2 separate regions of the Homo sapiens genome follow, and region 1 is linked to region 2. Evidence: promoter capture Hi-C in human tissues and cell types (Jung and others, 2019). All regions are on one chromosome and are shown on one strand. The core of a region is centred on a gene start or on the middle of the fragment in contact, and the rest is flanking DNA. Distances in the headings are between cores, read along the strand shown. Region 1 has its middle 3.5 kb from the start of FBXO10. Region 2 holds the start of MELK (maternal embryonic leucine zipper kinase).

Evidence for each region. Contacts are between HindIII fragments. The study calls those that stand out against the background at their distance.
Region 1: a fragment that was not itself captured here is called in contact with the fragment with the promoter of MELK in region 2 in 1 of the 25 tissues and cell types used here (lymphoblastoid cells).

Annotation. Positions count from the first base shown.
Region 1 is chr9:37,578,563-37,581,262 of GRCh38, forward strand. No RefSeq gene overlaps it. Among named protein-coding and RNA genes, the nearest start is that of FBXO10, 3.5 kb to the left of the region's middle. The HindIII fragment of the contact is 3,211 bases long and covers 1-2,700 here.
Region 2 is chr9:36,571,577-36,574,276 of GRCh38, forward strand. It overlaps MELK (maternal embryonic leucine zipper kinase), which reads left to right and starts at 1,319. Exons shown (of 18, transcript NM_014791.4): 1 at 1,319-1,431. RefSeq lists an enhancer at 38-537 and a silencer at 1,121-1,400. The HindIII fragment of the contact is 26,418 bases long and covers 1-2,700 here.

The sequences.
Region 1 (2,700 bases), core at 201-2,700, 1.0 Mb after region 2:
TAATCCCAGCACTCTGGGAGGTCGAACGGACGAATCACGAGGTCAGGAGTTTGAGACCAGACTGACCAACATGGTGAAACGCCGTCTCTATTAAAAACACAAAAATTGGCTGGGTGTGGTGGCGCGTGCCTGTAATTCCAGCTATCAGGAGGCTGAGGCAGGAGAATCGCTTGAACCTGGGAGGTGGTGGTTGCAGTGAGCAGAGATCGTGCGCCACTGCACTCCAGCCTGAGTGGCAGAGTGAGACTGTGTCTCAAAAAAAAAAAAAAAAAAGCAGTTCACTTGTAATCCCAGCTACTCAGGAGGCTGAGGCAGGAGGATCGCTTGAACCCAGGAGTTTGAGACCAACCTGGGCAACGAAGCAAGACCCTGTCTCTAAAAAAGAAAAGGAGTTGGATACAGACCTCCGGAATTTACGAGAGAATATCAGCTATAGAAACATAATTTACCAAGAATACTATGAAAAAGAAATTATTACACGAAATTGTGGCCTGAAATAATTGACCCCGTGGTCCTACTGACCTTTTTCAGTCCCTGGTTCTATAGAATATATTCCATAAAAATGTATTCCATCTATTATTACCATATGGTGAATGTGGTATGATTCTGGGTGAGGTCTAAGTTACCATGTAGCTGGTCTCTTTTATAAATAAGAAAACCAAACACTAAAACCTAAAGCCAACAATTTATTTTAAGACACAAAGTTGTACAGTAGCTAGGTATAGTAGAAAGACCACAGGGGTAGTCTCACACTGCAATGAGCCTGATGATTTACCTTGCTGACTGACAAAGCTATGCCATATTTAATCCTTTGAAAAGTATCTTACTCCATGAAACTGGCAGTCCAGATATGACTGTCAATAAACAATCAAAAGCTTGAGTTTCTGGATTTGTGCCAGCTAACATTATCATTTTGGTATTTGTATAAAACAGCTGACTTTCAAAGTGCTACAGCAGTGTCCTACAAGAGCAAGCTGTCTTCCCTATTAGTGGGGCAAGCATCACGTGCCACATGGGAATTTTTGTTTGTTTTGAGATGGGGTTTTGCTCTTGTCGCCCAGACTGGAGTGCAATGGCATGATCTTGGCTCACCGCAACCCCCACCTCCCAGGTTCAAGCGATTGTCCTGCTTCAGCCTCCCCCGTAGCTGGTATTAACAGGTACCAGCCACTAGGCCCAGCTAATTTTTGTATTTTAGTAGAGACGGGGTTTCACCATGTTGGCCAGGCTGGTCTCAAACTCCCGACCTCAGGTGATTCGCCCGCCTCAGCCTCCCAAAGCTCTGGGATTACAGGCATGAGCCACCACACCTGGCCAGGGGTTTTTTTTTTTTTTTTTTTTTTTTGAAACAGAGTCTCGCTCTGTTGCCCAGGCTGGAGTGCAGTGGCTCAGTCTCAGCTCACTGCAACCTCCACCTCCTGGGTTCAAGCGATTCTTCTGTCTCAGCCTCCCAAGTAGCTGGGACTACAGGCTTTCGCATTTTCAGTAGAGACAGGGTTTCACCATATTGATTAGTCTGGTCTCAAACTCCTGACCTCAGGTAATCCACCTGCCTCGGCCTCCCAAAGTGGTGGGATTACAGGTGTAAGCCAATGCGCCCAGCCAAAAATATAACTACTTAAATATAAGAACATCATTCACAAACTACAGTTGAGCCCTCTCTTCTTTCTGCCCTCATCTCACCTCTGCATGCCTCTATCCTACCATTAGACTCGAGAGGAAACTTACTCATCTTTATACACTGGCACCTGGCTGGTGTTTACTGGCAAATGTATAAGTGAACACACAAAATCTCCTCAGCCATGGGAGCTTTATTTACTTTGCTTTCCAGAAAAAGTAGGCTCACACAGAGTGGTGTCCCAGGTCAACATAGTGGACATGCCATGCTTTTTGGCTGCCCAGCATCTGAGGTCCCTTCCTACATTTGGGAATTCCTTGTTTATGAGTTTGCTGGGAAGCAGAACATGCCTTTCACTATAGAAGTGGAAATTCCAGGTATTTTCTCTGCTTCTCCTTGTGATTCTATCATGCTACAAATTACTCTTGATTTTGAATTAAGTACCAGAGACACAATAAAGTCTCTGGAATAATTTTCTCTGGGACCATGGCAAGTGCGGCAAGTTCTTAGAGCAACACTGGCTGCCATGATCCAGGGTTCTGTGCATGTGGCTTTGGCAAAGTAAGTGGTGGCACCTAATGTTCAGCAGAAATGGCGTCCTCACTGCCCCAGCTCTGTGGAGTATGACCAAGGAACAAAGGGTGATGTTCCAGTTGCCTACTCTCCAAGCCTAATTCTCTAGGCCTCCTGGTGATACTGAACTCCCTGTTATCCTTTTAATAAAATACTTTTCTTTTTCTGTCAAAATTGGATTTTGGTGTTTGCAACTAAAAAATCTGACTCACATAGTCACATGATAAATAGCAGAGCTGAAACTATAATCTAGGACATTGAAATCCTAATTCTAGTATTCTTTCCATGTAGACAGATCTCTACTTTCCAACAACCCACAATTTTTACATTACATATCGCTGTCCCTAAATCATTTTGTTCACCGAATTTATACTTGAATATGTAAGCTGATTAGTGAACATTTCAAGTGACTGTATTTCAAATGCAGTATTATCTTTGTACATCTGTTTATGTAATAGTTTCTTTCTTTTTTGCATTTTTGGCCTCTATATACTTAAGTGGAAATGAAA
Region 2 (2,700 bases), core at 69-2,568:
TTCTTTCTTTTCTCTCTCTCTTTCTCTCTTTCTCTTTTTTTGAGACGGAGTCTTGCTCTGTTGCCCAGCCTGGAGTGCAGTGGCACGATCTCTACTCACTGCAACCTCTGCCTCCCAGCAGAGAGAATCAAGAGATTCTCCTGCCTCTACCTCCTGAGTAGCTGGGATTATAGGCTCGCGCCACCAAGCCCGGCTAATTTTTTGTATTTTTAGTAGAGACAGGGTTTCATCATGTTGGTCAGGCTGGTCTCGAACTCCTGACCCCAAATGATCTGCCCCCGCCCCCCCACCAAAGTGCTGGGATTATAGATGTGAGCCTTTGCACCTGGCCTAACAGTTTCTCCATACATAGTGAATTGTAGACAACTACAATTGTAAATGTGTAAAGAGACTGTAACCTTGTAACAAGTAGCGAGTCTCAGTCAATCACAGCAGCGGAGTTTTGGCCAATCACAGGTGGCCAACTGTTTAAACAGTGCTCAAAATAGTCAGAGGTTGAGTTGCAACCAATCCAGCTGTTTCCATACTTGACTGCAATTTCTGTAAGTCATTTTCCTTTTTCTGTCCATAAATGTTATTTGAACATATGGCAGCCCGAATCACTCTGAACCTATTTTGGTTCCAGGGATTACTGGATTTTGGACTCATTCTTTGGTCAATTCAACTCTGTAAAGTTTAATTTGTCTAAAGATTTTCTGGGCCGGATACAGTGGCTCACGCCTGTAATCCCAGCACTTTGGGAGGCTGAGGCGGGAGGATCGCTTGAGCCCAGGAGTTCGAGACCAGCCTGGCCAACATAGCGAGATCCCGTCTCTACCCACAAATAATTTAGCCAGGCGTGGTGGCGCGTGCCTGTAGTCTCAGCTACTGGGGTTCTTATTCCTCGTGGCAACACATTTTGGAGAGGGGGAGGTATTCCTGTCTTTGCTGGGTGGGAGAACGGCCAGTGGGCAAGGGAGGACGAAAATGAGAACTGTGACTGCCAGAGGGCACGTCAATTTTAGGAAGAGAACGTAAGAAAGTTGGGTTCTGTGGAGACTTGGCATATCCACGCCACCTGGAAAATCATCACGTGCCCTCCGGGGCAAGACCAAGGCCTCAAGTCACCCCTCGCAGCCCAGTGGACCTCCCGGCCATCCCTTTCACGGCTCCACAGCGACCGCGAGCCGTTGCCCCGGTGAGAACCCCCCGGCACTGTGCGCGCCCCCGCCTGCCGTGCGCGTCCGCTTCCCTGGGATCCGGCGCCGCGCGCGCCCCCGCCGCGTCCCCGCCCCTTCCGGCCCGGGAGATTTGATTCCCTTGGCGGGCGGAAGCGGCCACAACCCGGCGATCGAAAAGATTCTTAGGAACGCCGTACCAGCCGCGTCTCTCAGGACAGCAGGCCCCTGTCCTTCTGTCGGGCGCCGCTCAGCCGTGCCCTCCGCCCCTCAGGTCAGTTCTCCCGCCTGCCCGCCGCAGTCGCAGTTGATGGCTGGGGTCTGGGCTGTGCGGGGCGCAGCGGCCCAAACCCAGTTTGCTCCTGGCTCTCGGGAGACTGGAGGATTTCATCGGAGCCCCGCGCTTTACCAGCCCTGTTCCCTGGATAAGATATTTGACCTTTCCGACCCGCGGTTTTCTTCTCCGTAAGTGGGGATAATGACCGTGTCTACTTAACAGGGTTATTGAAGAGGTGTTCAGGCTAAGCGTTTGCCACCTAGGAGGCTGCGATAGACGTGAATTCCCATTTCCCGTTTCCAGTTTCCGTGACTCTTCCCCGCGAAAAAAGTTGACAGAAGGGTTTCGAGTTTTTTCTGTTTGTACAACTCAGTTTACTGGGGCAGTGCAATAAAAAAGGAGATGTGTTATCACTACCTTTTCAGAGTCCAAATCCATCCTCTCCTATCATCTCCCCAGAGTAGTGGCTTCAGAGGCTCACACTAAAAGGGGAATTTTTTTTCTTTTTCTTCAAGACGGAGTTTCGCTCTTGTTGCCCAGGCTGGAGTGCAATGGCGCGATCTCGGCTCACCGCAACCTCCGCCTCCCAAGTTCAAGCGATTCTTCTGCCTCAGCCTCCCGAGTAGCTGAGCTTACAGACATCCGCCACCACGCCCGGCTCATTTTTTGTATTTTTAGTAGAGACGGGGTTTCACCACGTTGGCCAGGCTGGTCTCCAGCTCGTGTCCTCAGGTGATCCGCCCGCCTTGGCCTCCCAGAGTGCTGGGATTACAGGCGTGAGCCACCACGCCCGGCCTAAAAGGGGAATTTTCACCGAATGCTGTATCAGTAATAGGAGCAGCAGGATTGCTCCCACCAAGAAACCTGGTGTAGGGTTGTGGGAGCTGGAAAGGGTAGACTCAGGGAAGGCTGCCCAAGAGAGGAATCAGGTCCCTAGCACTTAGGACGGGTAATTACCTTTGGTATTTCTCCTTTGTTAGTGGAATGAGGTGAGTATCAGGAGCCTGGATTGTTGTTTAGAGGCCAGTGTTCCTAACTTTGGTTTAAATTTTGGTTTCTGTTTCCCATGGAGTCTGGCTAGAAAATCAGAAAAATCAGAAAAGCCCTTACTGGGCCTTCGTGGGCTTGTTTCTCCCAAGGGTCTGTCCTTTCTGTGTAACTACTGTGGACCAACTAGATGGGCAGATCAATCCCAATGAGTGCCTCATTGTTGGTGCTCCCAGAAGCCTTTGCAAGGGAGCAGGGCAGGATGCTAATTAAATGTGT